Regions from separate parts of the Homo sapiens genome. Here region 1 is linked to region 2. The links are contacts of gene promoters, found by promoter capture Hi-C in blood cells and fetal thymus (Javierre and others, 2016). All regions are on one chromosome and are shown on one strand. The core of a region is centred on a gene start or on the middle of the fragment in contact, and the rest is flanking DNA. Distances in the headings are between cores, read along the strand shown. Region 1 holds the start of AADACL3 (arylacetamide deacetylase like 3). Region 2 holds the start of PRAMEF12 (PRAME family member 12).

Region 1 (4,815 bases), core at 956-3,455, 58 kb after region 2:
CTGGACTCAAACAGTCCTCCCACCTCAGCCTCCCAAAGTGCTGGGATTACAGGTGTAAGCCACTACACCCAGCCCAGAACATTTTTAAATACATAAAATAAATACATGGGATTATAAAGAAAAGCAGTGTTATTTAAATATACTTATCAAAATATTAAAATGTATGTCATAATAATATAGGTTCTTCCTTACTAGCACATAGAGTAATAAGATCTAACTGCTGCCTGATACTACCCTAGTTTCAAAGAAATGAGGAGAATACATGAGTTTTCGCAATATCTAATAGGCAATGCAAATATGTCTGATTTCTCTTGGTGAAAAGTCGAGGTCTGGCTTTCAGGACTGTGGTTTGTTGCCTTCATTCCTCATGAGAAGAATTTCAATTGGAAGTTAGTTGTGAACATGGGGTAATTTTGACCCCATCCAAATCCATGACCCCCTTGTGTTCTGTGACCCAAATCCATGACCCCCTTATGTTCTGTGATCCAAATCCATGACCCCCTTGTGTTCTGTGGCCCCGGGGGCTCAAGATGCCCCAGGAGAGAAGCCCTGCTCGGCTCCCCTGACGGGTTTTGCTGTCCTCCTTGCATTCTCCGCTTTGGGAAGCTGTTTATCTGTAGCTTGTTCTATTGTGGGTTAGCTTCTTTATAGACCACTTCCCCGCTGCCCACTGCCTGGACCCTACAAGCTCCCTAAAGGCAGACCTGTGGAACTTTACCTCTCTCACCTGTCATTGGCCCTAGAGCCCAGGACTGGCGTAGGACACACAGCAGTTGCATAACACATCTTTGCATAAAAAATAAAAGAATCAACAAAGAGTAACAATGGCTACTATTTAAGGAGGGCTCCCTCTGTGTCAGGCATTATAATAAGCCTTCTGGAGAGGGTTATTCATGGAGTCTCCACAAAACCCTGTGAAGTAGGAGCAATTTTCCCTACTTTGCAAAAGAGGAAATCGAGTCACTGTATTTGGGAGCCTGGACTACAGAATCTGAGCATCAAGGGTAGGAAAACCTAGGACCCAATCACTGCATCTTATAAAAGCTGACTGGAGATCAGAAGCCTAGAGTTCCCGGGATCTTCTCTTTTAGGTAATAGCTACATTCTTTTGAATAGCATAGAAATTATTTTGAATAGCATAGAAGACACACCTAGGGTGTCTCTTGAGAAGAGGCACTGGCAATTGCTTTTCGTTATGTAAGAAACTTACAAAAAATATTTTGTATATTCAGTTTCTGTCAAGGCACAAGAAAAAGTACAAGAAATCCGTATTGGCAACACCTACACAGTTCCATTTACAGGTATTTTAACAAATTACACCAGAAGCAGAACCAAACTATATTCCCTAGGCAGCTTTCTAGCTCTCAAAAGCAACAACATATTTTTAAAGTCACATTCTGTAATTTTGCTCACCGGCACTAATCTACTCATCCGCTACCCTTTTACTTTGTGGCTTGCTGGCTCTAGCTAACAGGTAGATAGCAGTGGGGGCCCAGAGACTCAGGAAAATTCATTCATATCTTCACAACTTCTGAGAGTGGTGAGTGCTGTGAATAATATGGACACATTTATGGACACGTGAAAGGTACACTTAAAAATGCGAAAGATGGTAAATTTTATATGCATATTTTACCTCAATTTTAAAAATAAAACAAACCAACAACAACAAAAAGAAAGTCAGCGGGAGACACTCAGGTGAATAGAACCAGACTGGTTTTTTCTTTCTGTTAACTGAGAAAGCAGATCATTCTTTGAATTTTGTGAATATTAGCCAGGGCCAGCTTCAGAAACACCCAAAGAGGCTGAGAACCACCTAATAGGGATTATGCACATTTCAGAAGGTCTGATCAGCTGTCACTGCAGGCCCCATGATACCGGTGTTCATTCAGCTAGAAGCTTCCGGTGTGTGATTTTTCCTGCCGCCTTCCTTAATGGTCAGCTGGAGGGGACACATAAAGCACAAAACTCACCCAAGTCAACAGCAGCTGGAAGATGCAATGGAGGACTCTCAGTTTCACAGGGTGGCCAACCGCTGCAGGGATGTGCACAGTGAAAAAATGGCTGCAAATGACCCACAGAGTGACCCCTAGTGAGAACACGCAGGCTGCTGCGAGGAAGATCAGGGCCAGGTCCCACATGCTGCTTCCAGCTCAGAGCGGGCTGAGAGGAAGCTGTGCGCAGTGTAAACCATTTAGGACATGGTTCAGAGCCAGCAGACCTCCTCCACTTATAAGTCACACCTGTCCTCCCCCACCTCCCTGGGTCCCACAAACACTGGCCCAGCCCAGGTGAGTCACAGGCTCAGGTGAGGATGTGGTTCTAGGACAGGGCCCATGCAGAGAAGAAAGTGGCCCATCCAGCCGGATCCAGCCACAAAAGAAAGTTCTAGAGTCCCAGCTTACAATCTGGCACTGCTAACTAGAAATAGTCTTGGATAAGCCACCAAGTCACAATGGACATCATAAACACGATTCCTCCCACCGGCCCTCGGACCTCATCCCCCCACTCTGTGATTCAACTCCAGCTTATCATCCATCCATCAGCCTGTGGAGGATGTCCCAGAGCTGTTGTACGGCAAGCCATTCTCTGTACACCATTCTTCCCCTAGACCTCGGCTAGACTCCATGCCTCCCCTCTTGCTGGTCTCTGCTCAAATGTTGCCTTCTCAGTGAGGCCATCCCTGGCAATCTTATTTAAAATTTAACTCCCGCCAGCATGCCTACGCCCACCTTCCCCAGCCCCACCTTCCCCATCCCCCACCCTTTCCACCCCCCCACCTTCCACATCCCCCACCTTCCTCATCCTCCACCTTCCCCATCCCCCATCTTCCCCATCCCCCACCTTCCTCACCCCCCCACTGCTTGGTTTTTCCCTGTGACCTTTATCATCACCTGCCTCACTTGTCTGTTTATTGTCTGGGAGGACAGGAATTTTCTTTTTGTGCCATTTTATCACCAGAGGCTGGATTGGGGCTTGGTACTTTGTAGGTGCTCAGCAAATGCCTATGGAGTGAGAGAATGAATAGACAGGCTTTGTCCTCTTTCTTGCAAATCTGGGAAACTGTGCTTGCTTTCCTCTTTCTTGCAAATCTGGGAAACTGTGCTTGCTTGCCTTTCCAGGTCAGGTCAGAGGTTGATGTCACCATTGGAAATCTTCCCTAACAACCAAGTCCCACATCTGCAGTAACAATAGTAATATCTGCTGTGTCTCCCGCCTCCCAGCTTGAGTGAGAGAGCAGTGGTTCTCAGACAGGAGAGATTTTACCTCCCAGAAGATATGGGAATATCAGAAACATTTTTGTTGTCCCCACTCAGGAAGGGCCAGAGGGCTGGTTCTAGAGTGTCATAGACAAGAGGCCAGGGATATTGCCAAACATCCTGCAATGCACAAAGACTTATGCAGTCCAGCAAGCCGATAGTATGGTGGTTGAGAAACCCTGCATTTGCAACACTTGAATTTGAATCCTGGCTCTGCCAAATGCCAGCATGCTGATCATGAGCACGTTATGTGCAATCAGCCTCAGTTTCCAAGTTTGTCAAATGGGGATAATAATAGTACTCCCCACTCCATAGGACTGTTGGCTGCCTCAAGAACACCAGCCTGTGTCAAGCACTAGTATGAGTCTGGCACGTGGGAAGACTTAATTAGATGTCAGGAAGCCAGCCTGAAGCATTCTTTCTTTCTTTCTTTTTTTTTTTTTCTGAGATGGGGTCTCATGCTGTCACCCAGGCTGGAGTGCAGTGGTGCAATCTTGGCTCACTGCAGCCTCCATCTCCCAGGCTCAAGTAATCTTCCCACCTCGGCCTCTGGAGTAGCTGGGACTACAGGTGTGCACCACCATGCATGCCCATCTAATTTTTATTTTTATTGATTTATTTGTGTGTGTGTGTGAGAGAGAGAGACTGAGTCTCTCTCTGTCACCCAACCTGGAGTGCAATGGCACAATCTCAGCTCATTGCGACCTCCGCCTCCCGGGTTCAAGCAATTCTCCTGCCTCAGCCTCCCGAATAGCTAGGACTACAGGTGTGTGACACCATGCCAGCTAATTTTTTTTGTATTTTTAGTTATTTTTTATTTTGTTATTTTAGTAGAGATGGGTTTTCACCATGTTGGCCAAGCTGGTCACGAACTCCTGACCTCAGGTGATCCACCCGCTTTGGCCTCCCAAAGTGCTGGGTGTCACGCGTGTCTGTGTAAAGAGACCACCAAACAGACTTTGTGTGAGCAACAAGGCTGTTTATTTCACCTGGGTGCAGGCAGTCTGAGTCCGAAAAGAGAGTCAGCGAAGAGAGATGGGGTGGAGTTGTTTTATAGGATTTGGGTGAGTAGTGGAAAATTACAGTCAAAGGGGGTTTTTCTCTTACGGGCAGGGGCGGGGGTCACAAGGTGCTCAGTGGGGGAGGTTCTGAGCCAGGAGAAGGTTTCACAAGGTTAATGGCTCAGTTAAGGTGGGGCAGGAACAAATCACAATGGTGGAATGTCATCAGTTAAGGCAGGAAGCAGCCATTTTCACTTCTTTTGTGATTCTTCACTTGCTTCAGGCCATCTGGATGTATACATGCAGGTTTGGGCTCAGAGGCCTGACATTCCTGTCTTCTTATATTAATAAGAAAAATAAAACAAAATAGTGTTGAAGTGTTGGGGCAGTGAAAAATTTTCGGGGTACTATGGAGAGATAATGGGTGATGTTTCTCAGGGCTGCTTCGAGGGGGATTAGGGGCAGCATGGGAACTTAGAGTGGGAGAGATTAAGCTGACAGAAGATTTTGTGGTAAAGGGCAATATTGTGGGGTTGTTAAAGGGAGCATTTGTCATA
Region 2 (5,040 bases), core at 2,393-4,892:
TACAGCTCCAGGCTTAGCTTGCTCAGCCCGACGGTGTGGCGCAGCAGGTTCTCCAGGGCGGCCATGGAGATGAGGTTCCCACAGAAGCTGAAGGTGCTGAGCTGGGAGCAGCGGCTCAGGGCAGGCAGGATGGCGCTGAGTTGGGAATCCACGATCCCACAGTCCTCTAAGTCCAGGGTCTGCAGGGTGGCCTCAGCTTGCTCCAGCAGAACTGAGAGGGGCTCAGGACTGAAATGGGTCAGTGTGATGCCCCTCAGGTCTAGCTCTTTTAGCTGACGGATGCTCGGGCACCAAGAGAGATGCTTCAGGTCCGACTCTGACAGCAGGCATTCGGTCATTACGACTGTCTCCAAGGGGGCCTGGAGACACCTGGGAGAGAACAAGAAGGAGTTAGAGGAGAGTGGTGGGGAAGACCTCAAGGTGAGAGATGACACTTTTCACAACCCAAGGCTGTTCTGCTTATCTGAGGATAATCAGCACCTGGGGTGTGGGAATGGAGACTCTGCTCATTCAGGGCAGACCCAATCGAGGCTCAGTCCTTCACCATCACTCGGGTGACTGGGTCAAGTCCATGAACTCTAATGCTCCCTTTCCTCATGTGTCAGGTAGAAAACCACATCTCTGGGCCACAGGAGCCCGATGGAGACACAGGCATAAATGACAAACCCAGGCAAGATCCTGCAACCTCAGCTGGGGTGGCCAGGCTGCAGGAGACCCTGACATGCCCGTATCATCAGCAAACCATCTATCACTTTCACCATTCTTCACTCCTGCTCCCTCACCCTCTATTCCATCATGTTTTGGAGCTCAAAACATTTTACTGACAGAGGGAGACACAGGATTTTACCTGTTCACTAGGCAGGTGAGGACAGACCTTATATTTTAAAATGGAGGGGTGTGATGGACATTCTCTTCTTTAGTGCCCTCTTCAACTCCCCATTTCCCATCGTCTTAACTTAGACACACATCCTCGGGAGGAATTCACGAATGCACCCTCACTAGATCTAAACCCTGCAGTACCTTCCTAGCATGGCAGCCTCTCTATAGCATCTAGCCCAGGAGATCCCGCTGGCTTATTGGGATGGATGTGTGACACCTATTTCAGGACAGAGCTGCCAACAGGACAATGCATGGACATTCTAGTGTCCCCTTCGCTGTTACCTCCTCACAAGCTGGCTCACAGTAGATACCCCCTGGTGTTTACAGTAATAAAGAAAGTCTTTGCTGCGGTCTGCAGAGAAAGCTCACCATACTTCCTCACCTGAGCAGCTGGTCCAGGTGGCCTTCGAGGAAAGAGACAGAGTGCATGTAAAGCTTCTGGAAGTAGTCCAGCTTGAGGAACTGAGAGGTGAACTGGATGACAAACTGCTCCTTCCTGTCTAGGGGAATGCAGGCAGAGACATGGATGTTGAAGAGAACAAGTTTGCGGAGATTCCTCATCTGGCCCAGGTAAGGGGCGAACCTTATAAGAATGGACAGCTCCCACGGGCAGCACACTTCCACCTCCTGGATACAGTCTAGCTCCACCGTGTTCAGGACCTCTATGATCCTGTGGATGGCTATTCCAAAAATCTGCAGCTCCTTGCAACACACGTGCAGTAAGCCTTTTCTCTGCTTGCCCCACTCTAAGAAGTGGGTGAGGCATTCATCCAGCGTCCCATTCTTGAAGCAAAGGTCTAGGATCACCATCAAGGGCTGCTGCCCACCCGGCCTTGGACAGTTCCCTGCTGTTCGTCTCTTACTCAGGGCCTCTGGGGAGAGTGCAGAAGCTCCAGACCATATGCCCCAGAAGTTCTCATCCACATTCCGCAAGTCCAACACTTGAAGTTTCCACCGCCTGTGGGTAAAAGAGAAGAGAGGCTCCAAATTTAGGAAGGATTTGAGCTTTTATCCACATCCCGGACATCAGCGACTCTCCTCCCTGCTGCTTCTCCCACTCTCTGTCTTTTCTCCATCCCTCTTTCTCCTTGAAACCTGCCTGGTCCCCACTGCTAGTGTCTTCAATTGCCACTGGCAGGAGGCAGGTTCCTGATCCTTCAGTGGACCCTGCATGGTGAGCAGTCCTTTCCCAGAGGAGCTGGACAATGGCCAAGGCCTCTCTGAGCTTCCTCCCCAGCCCCATCAGAAGTCTCTGGGCCACCCTTGGGCCTCCCACTCCTTCTGACCCAGCTAACCCTACCCTGGATGCCTGAGCCCTCCCCACCTGGTTAGCTGGGTCACCTCACCTGGGGCGAACCTTCTGGGCAAGCAGTGCATCAAGCCCCTCCAGCACAGCTCGAAAGATCTCTAGATTACATGACTTCATCAGGGACCCTAGAGGAAGGCAGGTGAAGGGCCAGGCCTGCACCATAGTTGTCAGGGTCTCGCAGCATCTCCTGGTAAAGGCCTCCATGAACAGTGGGGGAAAGAGCTCCCTGGGCAGCTCCTCCAGGGTGGGGATGGCCAAGGCCCGGTCTCTCAGCAGACTCTGCTCAGCCAGCTCCAGGAGTCTAGGTGGGGCCTGGAGGCTCATCCTGATGAATCTAGAGAAAAAAACATCATTCTTACGGCAAATCACATCACTTCATCATCTCCTAGTGCCAATGTCATTGCTCTGGTAGAGGTGGAAAGGTAATTAGTTCACCCCAATTCCACTCTGCACTTTCTGGACACAAATCTGTAATTCTGCCCTTGCTGGTACCATAAAGAATGTCTTCCAAACAATGAGGAGAGGGCAAGGTAACCACTGGCCCATTCATTTTCAACCATTGCTGCACTAAATCTCAGTAACACTGGGAAGCGTTGCTGAGGATCCTGAAAGCTAAGCTCCACCTTTTTGAGAAAATATTTCTTGTCACTTACCACCCTAAAACAATGGGAACGAGAATGTCCTGTGGCCCCACACAGCCTACATTCTCAGTTCCCACAATTGACATGCTTGCAGAAGACTAAAGGGACTCCTTGGAATCAGCGCCATTATTTTTTATTTTGAAAAATTGTAACAAGAAATTGTAAAAACAGCATGACAGTGTTCTAGAGCCTGTGAAAGTTAGGGATAAAAACACTAACTCTCAGATGAAGGTTCCAATGTTGATCTCTTACACAGACTCACAATGACCCACTTTGGGATGGAATCTAGGGGAAAAAAATGGGTCCCATGTTCAGAACAAAGACTCCACTCTTGAGAATGGCCTATGGAATATCTTTAAGGTATTAGTAAAAACTAAGGCCTAACATGTAAAATCACGATGCCACCAAGTCTATGAACTATAATTTAAGGGCACAAAAACCAATTATTTCAAATGTCACGAAATAAAAATTCAACCAGTTGTAACTTTTTAATATCTCTTGTTAAAAAAAAAACTGCTTCAATAAGAATTTTGAAATGACAAAAACCAAGCACAAATCCAATTTTGGGGGATGAAGACAAAACTACATTTAGAGGAAAAATCAAAGCCTAAATTTGTTCTTCTGAAAACAGACAAGAAAATTCTCTCTGCCACCTTGGGCTGCATGTCACCATCCCTGACTGGCTGGCTGGCTGCAGATCAGATGGGCATGACCCTAAGGAGGTGGTGACTTACCAGATCTGGACTCAGTTTGCAGGGTGCTGCAACCTCTCAGAGAACCGAGCAGTAGCTCCAGGTGTCAGCGCCTTGGATTCTCTCCTGTGCACCTTCGGGAGCTTTTATGGACCTTTCTAACCACACCCTCCCCATCTCAACAACCAACTTCCAATCAGAAAATGATGTCTGATTAGATTCTGAAGTTCCACCCAGTTAATCCTGATTGAGTTTGCGACTTTCTTCTGATTAATTGATTGGATCAGATATACGTTTATGAAAGTGAAAGATATAAATAATAGGGTGAAAGTCCACAACTCATTCATTCCTTTATTCCACAAACACTGATGGAGTTTGACTGACATGAGAGCTTCATAGTGATGCAGGAAAGGGTTGAATCTGTTTCTGGCATTTGACAGAAAAAACAAAACCTGAAGGTATCTTTGCTGGGGGATCTTTGGCCACATAAACATTATCAAAATGTCTCAGAGCTAAAACAGCTCTAAGAAGACAGTAATTTCATCCCTAAGAAAGCAGAATAAATATCTCTGCGTATCCAGTGGTCAGCTGGGATTTACGCTTTCTAACATGGTAGATCATATGCCCATTCAGGTGGCAGAGGGGAACCACTGAGGGTGTGATTGATCTCAAGACGAAGGTTCAGGCTTCTCCGGAGGAAATTAAACCAAAATTACAAAGTGAGGTGGGGGCTGGGCAGGATGGGACCGGGTGTTCTAATGGGACCCTGGGAAGGAACCAAGACAGCATAAAACATGGTGGGTATTTTGTGGGAGAGGAGACGGAAGGATTGAAAGACTCCATTTAGATTGAATTCAAAAACTGAAAAGGAAATAATTACAAAAGAGACACTGTAGACTCAAAACACAATATTGCCTTTGAGGGCATGGGACGAGATACAGTCTTGGTCACCTCTAGAAGGTAAAGCGTGTTTACTCACAAAAATGATGGGCACCCCTCAGAAAACCAGCTTCGGGAGATTGAATCTGAGAATGTGAGCTGGGACAGAGGCCAGACAGAAGCACAGTGGCCAGGCCTAAGAAGGGAGACTCCCCCAAGCTGGAAGCCACAGAGGGTGGAAGCTGTGGGCTCTGCAGGACATGGGGGAGAAATGCACAAGGGTCCGTGTCTCCCTGTCATGGCGCTATGGTCTGGAAATCTTTCCTTTAGACTCAGGGATCTTCCCACAGTGGAACATTTCCCAGCAACCCTCAGGTCCAGGCATTTCCCAGGGCCCTTCATCCTCATCAATCCCATCGGCCCCTTTCCAGGTATATTTTGATCATTAATGTTTTCTCATCCTTAAAGTCCTCTCTTGTCCCTAATATTGAACATAGAGATTCTGATCAGAACAACAACATTAGGCATATGAAGAAAACTCAGGCCAGGCACGGTGGTCACTGGAGTCCAGGAGTTTGAGACCTGCCTGGGTAACATGGTGAAACACTGTCTCTGTAAAAAAAAAAAAATCTACCTAGAC

The links. The method cuts DNA at HindIII sites, captures the fragments that hold promoters and counts their contacts. A CHiCAGO score of 5 or more calls a contact.
Region 1: a contact is called between the fragment with the promoter of AADACL3 here and the fragment with the promoter of PRAMEF12 in region 2, in 2 of 17 cell types (total B cells and M0 macrophages). The highest score is 5.9, in total B cells.

The regions. Positions count from the first base shown.
Region 1 is chr1:12,713,500-12,718,314 of GRCh38, reverse strand. It overlaps AADACL3 (arylacetamide deacetylase like 3), which reads right to left and starts at 2,205. Exons shown (of 4, transcript NM_001103170.3): 1 at 1,971-2,205. The coding sequence starts at 2,138. RefSeq lists an enhancer at 1,531-2,730. The HindIII fragment of the contact is 3,124 bases long and covers 1,899-4,815 here.
Region 2 is chr1:12,772,340-12,777,379 of GRCh38, reverse strand. PRAMEF12 (PRAME family member 12) reads right to left here and starts at 3,642. Exons shown (of 3, transcript NM_001080830.5): 1 at 2,226-3,642; 2 at 1,262-1,837; 3 at 1-369. The coding sequence starts at 2,512. The HindIII fragment of the contact is 4,010 bases long and covers 1,317-5,040 here.